Regions from separate parts of the Homo sapiens genome. Here region 2 is linked to region 1. Evidence: promoter capture Hi-C in 16 types of primary human blood cells and fetal thymus (Javierre and others, 2016). All regions are on one chromosome and are shown on one strand. Each heading gives the region's core, a stretch centred on a gene start or on the middle of the fragment in contact. The rest is flanking DNA. Distances are from core to core; before and after follow the strand shown. Region 1 holds the start of APOL6 (apolipoprotein L6). Region 2 overlaps RBFOX2 (RNA binding fox-1 homolog 2).

Region 1 (7,324 bases), core at 1,613-4,112:
TTTGGCAAATTGCAGTCTCAGGGCAGCATTTGCTCAAACTCTAGGCAACCTCCGCCTCCTAGGTTCAAACTCTCCCTAAATGCTGTAGCCAGAGAGAAGAAAAGAAATTTCTAGAATCCAAGAATTTCAGGGTCAAAGTGTGCTTCAAGGCCTTTCCCCCATCCCAGGACGGATGGTCCCTGCCTGTGCCAGGGGCCACTGGGCCGAGGCGTGATGAGCTCTCTGGGAGGCAGACAGCCTGAGCCCAGAGTGGGTTGGTTGTGGCTGCAACACAGAAAACCTGCAGCTCCTCAGAGAGGTGCCAAGGCAAACCAGAACCCAGGTGTCCAGGAGCCAGCAATGCCTGCTGGAAGGGTCACAAAGGACCCTCTTTGTGGGCCAGTGGAACCCCAGAGGGCCAGCACAAGCCCCTGCCCCCAGGTGCCATCTCCGAGGCATGCAAATTTCTTTCTTTTTTTTTTTTTTTTTTTTTGAGACAGGGTCTTGCTCTGTCACCCAGACTGGAGTGCAGTGGTGCAATCTCAGCTCACTGCAGCCTCAATGAGAGGCAAACTTTTCAGAAAACATAAAAAGCCCTGATAGAAAATTTGAACTTAAATTGCCTGAACATTCACCCCCAAATGAGAGACTTTACCCAAAGATGTGTGTGTGTGTGTGTGTGTGTGTGTGTTTGTTTGTTTGTTTTTTTGAGACAGAGTCTCGCTCTGTCGCCCAGGCTGGAGTGCAGTGGCACAATCTCGGCTCACTGCAACCTCCACCTCCCAGGTTCAAGCGATTCTCCTGCCTCAGCCTCCCGAGTAGCTGGGATTACAGGTGCCCGCCACCACACATAGCTAATTTTTGTATTTTTAGTAGAGACAGGGTTTCACCATGTTGGTCAGGCTGGCCTCAAACTCCTGACCTCAAGCGATCCACCTGCCTCAGCCTCCCAAAGTGCTGGCATTACAGGCGTGAGCCACCGCGCCCGGTCCGAGAGTGTGTTTTAAATCACAAGAGACTAAGGGGCCTTCAGGCAAGTTTGTTTCTTTTCAGCAGGTCTTGGGTCCCTTGAGGGAAGGGAAGTGGACTCTAGGAAATTAAGCGACTCCCTACTTTTGTTCATCTGAGCTATAGGGTGGATGTTTTCTGTCCCCTTACATAAGCAGCACTTCCTGCATTTGGCTACAGAACATTTTTCTCACATGGCATCTCTTGGGGCGATTGTTTCACAAGAGCCCTGGTGGTAAACACTGCCCCCATCCAATGGCCGGTCTGGCCCCTGAGACTCCCAGGACCGAGCAGTGACCACAACATCTGGGTCCGTTGCCAGGGAAAACAACAGGCAGGCCTGGGATGGCTCAGCGGCCCCAGCCAGGCAGCCAAGTCCTCCTCAAGGTCAGGCTGTGTTTAGCGTGTTCCCCAAGTGTGGGAGGCCAGGAGCAGGGGTGGGTTGTGGAATCCGGGATGCCACGGTTGGAAAGGCCCCTACAAGACCCAACTCAGCAGCCCTTAACCCCTCATTCCTGCTCGTAGGGCCCAGGGACAGGAGGTGGCCTCTATCACAGCAAAGCCAGGACTGGCTAGGTGGGCCGCACCTTCTGCAAAGCAACAGCCTCCAATGTGGTCTCAGCTAGGGGTGGTGACTGGGGACTTCTGGGCATATAAATACAAACAAACCACATGGCTTCTGATCACAATTTGACACAAATGCTAGAGAGACACAGATCTCAGCCCGTAACCTCACTGTGGGCTCATTCTTGTAGACACAGAGCCTAGGACTGGTTCTTAGCTGTGTAATCACAAACAACCCACAACTTCTAGAAGCCTGGGTTTCCTCTTCCTTAAAGTGGGAGACAGAGTATCACAATCCTATATCTCCAATCCTTGAGGCCAGATGCATGTCAGAGTTCCTGATTTGGGGGATTTTTAGAAAGGTAATGGGGTGCAGGTATCGTGTACTATGTAACCCACGCACCCGCAGCAGCCCTCCTCAGTCAAACATATTAATATTTCTGCAGTGACTGTAAATATTCAAATTAAGCAGGAGACATAAAAACCACAGGTGAATTCATGCCAGATCAGGTCAGGTTTTGCCACTAAATGAATAAATTATCATTTTTTTTTAAGTTTTCATTCTGAGGCCAGGTGCGGTGGCTCACGCCTGTAATCCCAGCACTTTGGGAGGCCTAGATGGATGGATCATTTGAGGTCAGCAGTTTGAGACCAGCCTGGCCAACATGGCAAAACCCCATCTCTACTAAAAATACAAAAATCAGCCGGGCGTGGTGGCAGGTGCCTGTAATCTCAGCTACTAGGGAGGCTGAGACAGGGGAATAGCTTGAACGTAGGAGGCGGAGGTTGCAGTGAGCCGAGATCGTGCCATTGCACTCCAGCCTGGGCAACAGAGCGAGACTTCATCTCAAAAAACAATAATAATAATAATAATAAAATAAAGTTTCCATTTTCAGAGGATTCTGCATTCAGAGTTATTAGCCCTTTAATGCTGTGCACCTCATAGGGTTGTTACCCACATCAGCGTCACGTAAGATGCTGTGGAGGAAAGCAGTTTCAGAACAATCAGTGATGACAGCTACTGTGAATCCACTATTCAACAGGCGCCCCATCGCTTGCTCATGGGCTCCTCACCATAGCTCTAAGCCACAGGAGCTATTTTCATACCCCATATAGGTCCATCCTATAACACAGCCAGGACAGAGACGAGAGACTCAGGCCTCCTGACTTGGATTCTGCTCTTTCACCTCCTTGTTCATCCAATTAGAGAAACTGGCAAAAAGGAAACTGAAAGTGACAGCTGGAGCCCATGATTTCCTGGAAGAGCCCTAGAGCTTTGCTTTTTCTCTCCTGCAGCACTTAACCGAAACCAGTTTTGCAATCAATTCCTGTTCAAAGGCCACCCTACTCTTCCTATCCGTCTTTCTCCAGCCCAGACACTCACAGCCCCCTGCCAGACCAGGGGACCTCGGAGAGGCAAGGACAGAGGTTCAGGATCTTCCTCTCCCTCGGGACCCAAGGCCACAAAGGAGAGCTCCGTGGAGAGAAGGTGAGACGGCGGGCAGAAGTCGGGGGAGGAGGGGGCTGCCGCTCTGGTCCCTGAAGGACAGAGCCCCCAAGGGGTTGGCTTTAGGCACCTGACTCAGGGAAAAGAGCTGCTGTGAAAGCAGCGGGGTTCAAATGCCAGCCAGAGCTTGAGGAGAGTCTGAGGATTAACTTCTCCTGTGTTAATCCTGGTAGGTTTCCCTCCCTTACAGCCATTTCAGGGTTAAATTGAAACATGCTAAAGCATGCGATGTGACTAGCCAAGTTGCATTTGTCCCTCCACTGCTGGGGATCCGAGGGCTTAGGCAGAGGGGACCTGGCCCTTAGAAAGCAGATGATTACATCAGCCACAGGCGTTTCCCTAGAAATTCAGTAGAGGAGTGGTTTAGGGGTGTCATCTCACAAGAAAAAAGGTGCTGGGTGAGTTGTCTAGAAACTGCAAAGCCAACCTACAGAGTTTTCTAGATTGTAGATTTATGTGAAGTTGTTTGGGGAAGAGGGTGAGGGAGTTTGTGATAAATATTAGGGCGACTAGGCCAGGCGCAGTGGCTCATGCCTGTAATCCCAGCATTTTGGGAGGCTAAGGCAAGCGGATTGCTTGAGCCCAAGAGTTTGAGACCAGCATGGGCAACATAGTGAGACCCCGTCTCTACAAAAAATCAAAAAATAGCTGGGCGTGATGGTGCACACCTGTAGTCCCAGCTACTTGGGAGGGTGCTGAGGTGGAAGGATCACTTGAACCCAGGAAGTCAAGAATGCAGTGAGCAGTGATCGCACCACTGCACTCCAGCCTGGGCAACAGAGTGAGACCCGGTCTCAAAAAAAAAAAAAAAAATCTAGGGAGGTTATCTTGAAGCTGTGTTTTCAAAGTAAGCAGATTTTTCTTACTTAGATTGTGTATCTGCAGAAGTTGGTTTTGTGGGGGAAGGCAGGTAAGGAAAGACTGTCATAAATATCCTGTAAGCTTTCAAATGAAAGTAAGTTCTCAAATCCTCTTCCAATAAACCTCTCACAAGCAAATCCTCTCGCAACCACCAAGAGCAGGTCAGAGGGGATGGAATGGGACCTGCTTAGATGAGTTTCCTGCTGTTACCTTTGCCCTGCATCCCATAGGACTAATGTAAAAAAATGAGAGAGGTATTGGCGGACGCTGGTAAAAAATGGGGTTCCAGACCAGAGTCTCTTACCCCCAGCAACCTTGTCATGTTCAACCAGGTGATCCCTGGTTGTGGGGGCTGTCCTCTGCATCGTAGGGTGCTTGGCAGCATCCCTGGCCTCTGCCCTCTACATACCAACAGCAGTACCCTCTCCAGCTGAGACCATCAAAAATGTTTCCAGATATTAGCAGTGTCCCTGAGGAGCAAACACGCCCTGTTTGGGACCAACTACTCCAGACTCTGCGTGGCTGGAATTGCACAGGCTTTCCTGCTTACTGTGTGACACTGGCCTCCCTATGTCTCAGTTTGCACCTCTGTAAAATGGGCATCATCTTAGCACCGATCTCACTGGGTCACTGTGTAAAGCAGGTAGATGTATGTCTGGTGAAAGTAAACTCTTAAAGGTGCCAAGCCCCCTAAACCAAACCTAGCTTCACATACCAAAGAGGGGAGAAGGTTTTTATCTTTGAAGCATTCATTCTTTTTCATAGACTACCCCAAAGAAATAACCAAACATGTAGACAGACGTCTATATAAGGATTTTAACCAAAAATTATAAATACAAAATTTTAAAATAACTGAAAACAACCCAAAGGTTCAACAGTGAGAGAGTTATTGAATGTGTAATGATACATTCGTAAAATGAAATGCGACATGGCTTCTATGTATCGCCTGGGGAACTACTAAGATACAATGTTAGGTGACAAGAATTCACACAAACTACATGAACAGCATGCATTTCCATATGGTGAGCGTAAGGTGGATTTTATAATTTATTTCTAAATTTTCAACCTTAAACTTGTATTCATGGCTATAAGTGAATGAATGAATGAATGGCTATAAATGAATGGCTATAAAAATTTGTGTCCTGGGCTGGGCATGGTGGCTCATGCCTGTAATCCCAGCACTTTGGGAGCCCGAGGTGGGTGGATCACCTGAGGTCAGGAGTTCAAGACCAGCCTGGCCAACCTTGTGAAACCCCATCTCTACTAAAAATACAAAAATTAGCCGGGTGTGTTAGTACGTGCCTGTAATCCCAGCTACTTGGTAGGCTGAAGCAGGAGAATCGCTTGAATCTGGGAGGTGGAGGTTGCAGTGAGCCAAGATCATGCCATTGTACTCCAGCCCGGGCAACAAGAGCAAAATTCAGTCTCAAAAAAAAAAAAAAATTTTTTTAAAAATAAAGAATTTGTGTCCCTTCAGAGTGTGTGAGGGAGGATGTTTTTTTCTAACTTTTTAGAAGTGGAAGGGAAGAGGATGAGAGAAGGGAGGATGAGCTGAGGGAGAAGCTATATCTAGGAAACAGCATTTCTGCCGTAAGCGCTGGACCAAGTACCAAATGTAGAGAAGAGATGCAAAGGAATGTATTGGCTTCCCTAGGGCTGCTGTCAGAAAGCACCACAAACCAGGTGGCTTCAAACAACAGACATTTAGTGTCTCACAGTTCTGGAGGCTGGAAGTCAAAAATCCCAGTGCCAGTAGGGCGCACTTCTGCTGCAGGCTCCAGGGAGACCATCTGTGCCTTTTGCAGCCTCGGTGGCTTCTGACAGCACGACTCTAATTTCTGCCTCTGTCTGCGTGCAGCCTTCTTTGCTGTGTCTCTCTCTGTCACCTCCTCTTCTTATAATGACATCAGTGATGGATTTCAGGGCCACCCTGAATCCAGGATAATTTCACCCGGAGAAATGTATACATGTGCCATGTTGGTGTGCTGCACCCATTAACTCATCATTTAACATTAGGTATAACTCCTAATGCTATCCCTCCCCACTCCCCCCACCCCACAACAGGCCCCGGTGTGTGACGTTCCCCTTCCTGTGTCCATGTGTTCTCATTGTTCAATTCCCACCTAGGAGTGAGAACATGCGGTGTTTGGTTTTTTGTCCTTGCGATAGTTTGCTGAGAATGATGGTTTCCAGCTTCATCCATGTCCCTACAAAGGACACGAACTCATCCTTTTTTATGGCTGCATAGTATTCCATGGTGTATATGTGCCACATTTTCTTAATCCAGTCTAGCATTGTTGGACATTTGGCTTGGTTCCAAGTCTTTGCTATTGTGAATAGTGCCGCAATAAACATATGTGTGCATGTGTTTTTATAGAAGCATGTTTTATAATCCTTTGAGTATATACCCAGTAATGGGATGGCTGGGTCAAATGGTATTTCTAGTTCTAGATCCCTGAGGAATCGCCACACTGACTTCCACAATGGTTGAGCTAGTTTACAGTCCAACCAACAGTGTAAAAGTGTTCCTATTTCTCCACATCCTCTCCAGCACCTGTTGTTTGCTGACTTTTTAATGATCGCCATTCTAACTGGTGTGAGATGGTATCTCATTGTGGTTTTGATTTGCATTTCTCTGATGGCCAGTGATGATGAGCATTTTTTCATGTGTCTTTTGGCTGCATAAATGTCTTGTTTTGAGAAGTGTCTGTTCATATCCTTCGCCCACTTTTTGATGGAGTTGTTTGTTTTTTTCTTGTAAATTTGTTTGAGTTCATGTAGATTCTGGATATTAGCCCTTTGTCAGATGAGTAGATTGCAAAAATTTTCTCCCATTCTGTAGGTTGCCTGTTCGCTCTGATGGTAGTTTCTTTTGCTGTGCAGAAACTCTTTAGTTTAATGAGATCCCTTTGTCAATTTTGGCTTTTGTTGCCGTTGCTTTTGGTGTTTTAGACATGAAGTCCTTGCCCATGCCTATGTCCTGAATGATATTGCCTAGGTTTTCTTCTAGGGTTTTTATGGTTTTAGGTCTAACATTTAAGTCTTTAATCCATCTTGAATTAATTTTTGTATAAGGTGTAAGGAAGGGATCCAGTTTCAGCTTTCTGCGTGTGGCTAGCCAGTTTTCCCAGCACCATTTATTAAACAGGGAATCATTTCCCCATTTCTTGTTTTTGTCAGGTTTGTCAAAGATCAGATAGTTGTAGATATGCGGCATTATTTCTGAGGGCTCTGTTCTGTTCCATTGGTCTATATCTCTGTTTTGGTACCAGTACCATGCTGTTTTGGTTACTGTAGCCTTGTAGTATAGTTTGAAGTCAGGTAGCGTGATGTCTCCAGCTTTGTTCTTTTGGCTTAGGATTGACTTGGCAATGTGGGCTCTTTTTTGGTTCCATATGAACTTTA
Region 2 (7,324 bases), core at 2,238-4,737, 260 kb after region 1:
TTCCTGGGTTCAAGCAATCTTCCTGCCCCAGCCTCCCAAAATGCAGGGATTACAGCCATGAGCCACTACACACAACCTCTTAGCTAATTTTCTATGTCATTTTAAATGAGAAGCATTCAGACAGTATCTTCTTACCACTAAATCTAATGTTCTATAATAAGTAAATGATTAAATGAACCCTAATTTTTTTAAAGTTCTCCTTTGACCCCTCATCTCCCTCCAGCTACCTGCTATTTCCCTGCTCACCACTTCAGGGTAAATTATCTTGAAAAAGTTGTTGTCTATATCTGTCTCAATTTCTTCACTTCTCATTTTCTTCAATCTACTCAAAACAAAGTTTCCAAGCCCTCCACTCCATTAAATCAACTTATCAAGGTCTACTACTTCCACATTTATCTGACCTCTTAGCAGGATTCAACAAAGCTGACAATCTTCTTAAAACATTCTCTTCTTCTGGCTTCTGAGATACTACAATGCCATTTTTTTTGTTTTTTCATGCATCACTGGTTACTGTTTCAGTATCTTTTTATGGCTTCTCCCTCGACAGACCTCTAAAAGGCAAGTGTTCCTTGGGGTTCAATCCTGAGTCATCTTCTCTAAGTTGTCTCATCCATTCCCATCACTTCAAATACCATCAACATGTTAATAACTACCAAGTTACACCCCTAGCAGAGACCTCTCCCCATGCTCCAATATGACTACTTAGCTGTCACACAAGCATGTCAAACTCAACATGCCCAAAATTGGGTCCTTAATTCTCCACCATCACCACCCTTGAAGTCCCCTGGTACTACCTGACAATTATGAAAGCCAGAAACCCTTCCTTCACCCCTCATCCCTCACATCCAACCTACAGCAACTTCTGTGTGTGTGACTTCACTTGACCTCCACTGCCTTAAACCACCTTAACCCAAGCCACCATCATCTCTTTCCTGAATATCACACTAGTTTCCCCATTTCCATTGTTGCTCCCTTCCAAAACACCATCACACAGCAGCCAGAGAAACTCTGTAAAACAAACACCAGATCTTATCACTCTCCTACTTCCACGGCATCACATTACATTTTTCTTTCCAAACTCCTTATGATGGTCTTTAAGGTCCTATATGACCTGCTATGTGCCCACTTCTCCAACCTCACTTCATACCATATCTCCTCTCAATCACTATTCTAAAGACACTGATTTTGTGTCAATTCCTCTCCCCCATACCCCTTAATTCCCTCTTTCTGAAATCCCTCCTCGTTCCACCTTCATTCTTTGCAAGCCAGGCTCCTTCTTATCTTTTAGAACTCAGCTTAAATATCACTTCCTCAAATAAAACTCTCCAGACTCCTCTATCTAGTTGGAGGTCTTTCCCCACAAGCCCGTACTCTCTGTTACTGTGCCCTGTTTATGTTCTTCCTAGCAGTTACCAAAATCTTTAATTATTTATGCTTTTTTTGGTTACAGATTTCTCCATTAGAAAGTAATGTTTTGTGTATGTCAGATACAACTGAAATCTTCTACTATGAAACGCTTTATCCTTTGACTTTTTGTTAGGGAAGGTCAAAGTTATTTGCAGGAGTTTCTGGCACTCAGGCAACTGTCTAACCAAGTCCTATAAATAAAGTTAGAGTGCTACTAATTTCACCCTAGTTACCAAAAGGACTCACAGCTTTGCCACAGATACAAACCACAAATAAATGCTGGTAACAATGGCTTTAAAATGCTACACTGTGAAATAATCATAACGTCAATATGAAAAGGCAGTTCCAATTTAATCATTTACTTTAAGCTAATCTGATAATCTACATTCCAAATTGTCTCCCTTCCAAAACTATAAATTTATTCTTCTCAGCACAATAATAGCATCCCAGTTCAAGCTCTCCTCTAATCAAGCTTGCTGTATATAAGTTAGTTAACTAGAGTCTAGAACTACGTCGTCTAACACGCAGCCAGCTGTCATATGTGGTTATGTGAATTTAACTTAATTAAAATTAAAATTTCAGTTACTTAATACTAGCCACATGTCAAGTGCTCAAGAGCCACGTGAGGATAGTGGCTATCATAATGGATAGGGCAGACATAAAACATTTCTATCATCACAGAAAGGTCTATTAGACAGAGCTGTCCTAGAACACGGTAATAACCAGGAAGCAAAAAGGCCCTCTAGGTATCCAGAATTCCAAAACATTCATTCCAAAATTTTCATCGGCAGGAAAACTCCATCAGACCTTCTCTCTGAATCTATTTATTTTTATTTTAGGAATATTTCTGTCCTGGTTATCTGGCTAATTGTCCACCAAAAATTTACAAAGCAAATTAAGAAAAGGAACTGGGAAGCAGTGGGGAATAAGTACCAGAGGAAAAAGGAATATTATGTTAGAGGCAGCCAACATAGGAAACAAGAAAGATGAAGAGAAAAAAAATCTAAAAAGCAGGTAAAATAGATAGATGATATATGTCAAAATGGTGCCACTTAGTAAGGCAAAACCAGCAAAAGCTCCTGAAATATTACTCTTTTATATTCCTAAACAATACTGATGCTGATACCTGTGTTAAAACCATTTAAAAATGCCCACTATTTTACTGTTAAGAAGAAATAAATTTTATAGTTATACAACACAATTTAGAAGGATTTATTTCTGAAATGACTGAATCTTAAATACCTTGGTCTTTAAAGAAGGGAAAATCCTCTCAGCTGGTTAGGATACTCAGCCATGAAGAAGAGAAATATTCTGCACAAATTCAAGAGTTCAGTCCCTTGAATATGAATGAATGCGTTTACAGAGCAGGTATAGATATGTAAGTAAGACATGACTCTCCTGTTTAATGAATTATGGCTTATCCATACAGTGAAACACTGAACAGTATAGCCTTGGGGGAGGGGGATGAGGAAGCTCTTAAAATACCATTATGAAATACTCTAATAGAGTCATGCACTGCATAGCAATGTTTCAGTCAATGATGGAACACATATGTCATGGTGGTCCCGTAAGATGATAATGCCATGTTTTTACTGTGCCTTGTCCATGCTTAGATATGTTTAAATATGAAAATATTTGCCATTGTGTTACAATTGCCTACAGTAATCAGTAGAGTAACATGCTGTACTGGTTTGCAGCCTAAAGGCATTAGGCTGTACCATATATAATATATAGTCAGGTATATATCTAGGTTTGTGTAAGTACATTCTATGATGTTTTCACAATGAAGTCACCTAATGACACATTTCTCAAAAAGTATCCTTATCATTAAGCCATGCATACCGCATATGTCATTAAGTGGAAAAAAGAAAGGTTTAGCAATGGTTTTAAAACCAGTGGTTTTTTAAATGGGAGGAAAAGATCAAAGGAGGAATTATACACAAGAAGTAAAAAACACCCAGTGCCTGTAGGGGAAAGACACTGGGAACTCAAGACAGGAATGGGAGAGCAACTTTTCACGATATGACCATTTTCTACTTTTAAAATATTAACTTATGTAAATGTTATTTATTCAAAATACAATAATCATACATTTTATAAAAGTGAGTTCTCTATCCCTAAGAAATGTATAATCTAATGACTTACCCAGGCTTCAAAAAACAAAAGAAAAAAAATCACACTTTTTCCTTTACCAATGGTCAGATATTTAAATATTTCACACATACTTTATTCTTACTTAAAACCTCATTCTATGGCCTGGCACAGTGGCTCATGTCTGTAATCCCAGCACTTTCTGGGGCTGAGGCAGGCAGATCTCTTCAGGTCAGGAGGCCAGCCTGGCCAACAGAGTGAAACCCCATCTCTACTAAAAATACAAAAATTAGCCGGGCGTGGTGGCACACACCTGTTAGTCCAGCTACTTGGGTGGCTGAGTCACAAGAATTGCTTGAACCCAGGAAGTGGAGGCTGCAGTGAGCCAAGATCACGCCACTGCATCCCAGCCTGGCCAACAGAGCAAGACTCTGTCCCAAACAAACAAACAAACAAACAAAAAACCAAAAAACTTTCTATACCATTTGAATTTCCATTTCCAACAAACTAATCAATTTTGGAAAAAAACTCAAACTTGATCTTAAAATGGAAACTGCAGTGATCCTTACCATAATCTTGTATTATTTAGCTTTTAAAAAATCTTTGCATAAAAGTATATACATTTCAAGAAAAAAATCATCTTGTTGGAAAACATGGCAAAGACTGGTTGAAAATCTCCCAGGGAAGCCGCAGAATGGTCTTCTGTATCATGTGGGAGATAAGGCTGGGTCACTCTGATAGGCCCTGGAGCTGAGAATGTTAGTGGCTTCCCAATATCCTCTCTTCTCTTCTTCCTTAGTAACAAAACCCCAGTTTTCATTTTAGCATATTACTGTACACGCTTCCCCAGAAAAGGACTACATCTTCCATCCTCCACTACAGCTACATATGGCCCTAAGACTAATTCCGACTAATGAGATATAAGCAGAAATGTTACATGGAACTTCCTGGAAGTTTTCTTAGGTAGGGGAGGGGACACCCCTCTTTTCTTCCTCTCAAACTGCTTTGTGGAAAGGGGGAAATGATGGCTGAATCATCTAGGCCCATCCTACAGTCAGAGAAGTAAACAGCAGTAAGGATCTTAGATCCTTGGTAACCAGACAGCGCCATATTAGCCTGGACTGCCTAATTTCAGACTTCTTTTTCATGAAAGACAAATGAATCTCTCTCTTGTTAAGATTCTGTGTGGGGAAGAGGAGATTGTTATATGCAGCTGAACTTAATCCTAAATGTTTTCAATAATAAATTATTTACTTTAACTTACAAATCAAAACTCGATTTTTTTTTTTGAAACAGAGTGTCGCTCCGTCGCGCAGGCTGGAATGCAGTGGCGTGACTCCAGCTCACTGCAACCTTCACCTCCCGGATTCAAGAGATTCTTGTGCTCAGCCTCCCAAGTAGCTGGGATTACAGGTACCCACCACCATGCCCAGCTAATTTTTGTATTTTTAGTGGAGACGGGTTTTTGTCACATCGGCCAGACTGATCTCGAACTTCTGACCTTAAGAGATCTACCTGCCTCGACCTCCCAAAGTGCTGGAATTACAGGTGTGAGCCACTGTGCTCTACCCAAAATTCAATTTCACTTGAAACAACAGAAAGCTTTATGCACATCAACAGTGTGCACATTTGATGACCAAAACAGAGACTGTCAAAGAATCTTGAAATGTCTATTTCAAATGTTTAGGCCAAGAAGTCAACTGGTGTATCACTCTGATCTACTATCCATAACTATTCCACACCAAAATGATAGAAATAAAATTTTAACTTAACCATTCTTGAATTCGTATAATGAGAAACAGTCAAATATGGATACACTCAGTTTCTTCACCTGCAAAATGGAGTTAATAATGCCTACATTACAGGGATGTTGTCAAACCCAAATAGAGAACAAATGTTCTTCAACTTACAATGGGATTTTGTCCCTATAAACTCATCATAAGTTGAAAATATAGTAAGTCAAAAATGCATTTAACACACCTAACCTACCAAACATCATAGCTTAGCCTAGCCTATCTTAAACATGCTCAGAACACTTACATTAGGTTACAGTTGGGTAAAATCATTTAACACAATGCCTATTTTATAATAAAGTGTTGAATATCTCATGTAATTTACTGAATATTATAATAAAAGTGAAAAAATGGGTACTCAGATGGTTTCTACTGAATGAACATTGGTTTCTACTGAATGTGTATTGCTTTTGTACCATTGTAAAGTCAGAAAACTGTTAAGCAGAACCATTCTAAGTTGTGGATGGTTCAACATCTGTATGTTAGGCTATTATGTAAACAGAGCAATATATACTATTGTTATCATTACAATTACCACCACAATAGCCAATTGGTAAATATGAGTCACAAAATAAAAAATACTAGATGAAACCTATTAAATAGGCAGAAACTTAGGTTTGGGGCTCAAGGAATTCAGTGAACTTGCCAAGCCTCTTTCATCCAATTTCTCATCTATTTTTTTTTTTTTTTTGAGATGGAGTCTCGCTCTGTCACCCAGGCTGGAGTGCAGTGGCATGATCTCAGCTCACTGCAACCTCCACCTCCCAGGTTCACACCATTCTCCTGCCTCAGCCTCCCAAGTAGCTGGGACTACAGGCGCCCGCCACCACGCCTGGCTAATTTTTTGTATTTTTAGTATAGACAGGGTTTCACTGTGTTAGTCAGGATGGTCTCGATCTCCTGACCTCGTGATCTGCCCACCTCGGCCTCCCGAAGTGCTGGAATTACAGGAGTGAGCCACTGCGCCCAGCACATCTCGCTATCTTTCAGAAAATCATTGTTATCAGGTTTGGTGCAGTGGCTCATGCTTCTTGTTGCAGCTGCTCAAGAGGCCAAGGTGAGAGGATCGCTTGGGGCCAGGAATTTGAGACCAGCCTAAGCCACATAGCAAAACCCAGTCTCTTAAACATATATATATGAAAAAATATACATTACATCAGGAATTTCAGTTTCCTTCTTTAAAGTATGGGTGGAAAGAAGGGAGTTGAGAGGTTGTAAGGGGAGAAAAAGAACAACAGCAGTAAAAGGCTTAAAGTAATTAGGAAGTCAGATACACCTGAAATATGTAACCCTGTTTTAGCATTTTACAAGTTGTCAAAAGGTAATACAACAATTTTAAAAGTAACGCTAGCAATATTTTTCTTCATTCAAAAGAAAAATACTAAATACAAATATAGTTTCTACTTAGTATGCAACAATCTATCATGAAAAGTGCAATGTCTCCGAGCAATGTCTTCGAGAAATAAGGGTAACATGTGAGTCCCCCTGTTGGAGCGAAGTGGCACAATCTCGGCTCACTGCAACCTCCGCTTCCCGGATTCAAGCGATTCTCCTGCCTCAGCCTCCTGGGTAGCTGGGATTACAGGCACAAGCCACCATGCCCGGTTAATGTTTTTGTATTTTTAGTAGAGACAGGTTTCGCCATGTTGGCCAGGTTGGTCTCCAACTCCTGACCTTAGGTGATCCACCCACCTCGGCCTCCCAAAGTGCTGGGATTATAGGCGTGAGCCACTGTGCCGGGCCTTACTTTCTTTTTTAGGCAGAAAAAGAAGATAATTTTTAACCTGTACCCAAAGGCATAGACAATACAAATGTAATCTATTTTGATGATTGACAATCATAAATATTTACTTAATTTCAACAAAGTCATGATTTTTTGCTCTTTAAACAAAATATAACTGAATCTCTTTAACTTTTATACTTAAAATGATTTAACTTCTCCAAAATGTTTAAAGTTTGAAAAAAAGCCAATGAAGTCACTTCCTGAAGCCATTAATTCATCTTTTTAACACTACTTCTGGTGACTTTAATCC

The links. The method cuts DNA at HindIII sites, captures the fragments that hold promoters and counts their contacts. A CHiCAGO score of 5 or more calls a contact.
Region 2: a contact is called between a fragment that was not itself captured here and the fragment with the promoter of APOL6 in region 1, in 5 of 17 cell types (M0 macrophages, M2 macrophages, M1 macrophages and 2 more). The highest score is 11.7, in M0 macrophages.

What each region holds. Positions count from the first base shown.
Region 1 is chr22:35,645,584-35,652,907 of GRCh38, forward strand. APOL6 (apolipoprotein L6) reads left to right here and starts at 2,863. Exons shown (of 3, transcript NM_030641.4): 1 at 2,863-3,040. RefSeq lists an enhancer at 2,568-2,867. The HindIII fragment of the contact is 8,876 bases long and covers 1-3,998 here.
Region 2 is chr22:35,902,879-35,910,202 of GRCh38, forward strand. The region is part of intron 2 of RBFOX2 (RNA binding fox-1 homolog 2); the gene reads right to left. Among named protein-coding and RNA genes, the nearest start is that of RBFOX2, 120 kb to the right of the region's middle. The HindIII fragment of the contact is 3,221 bases long and covers 1,878-5,098 here.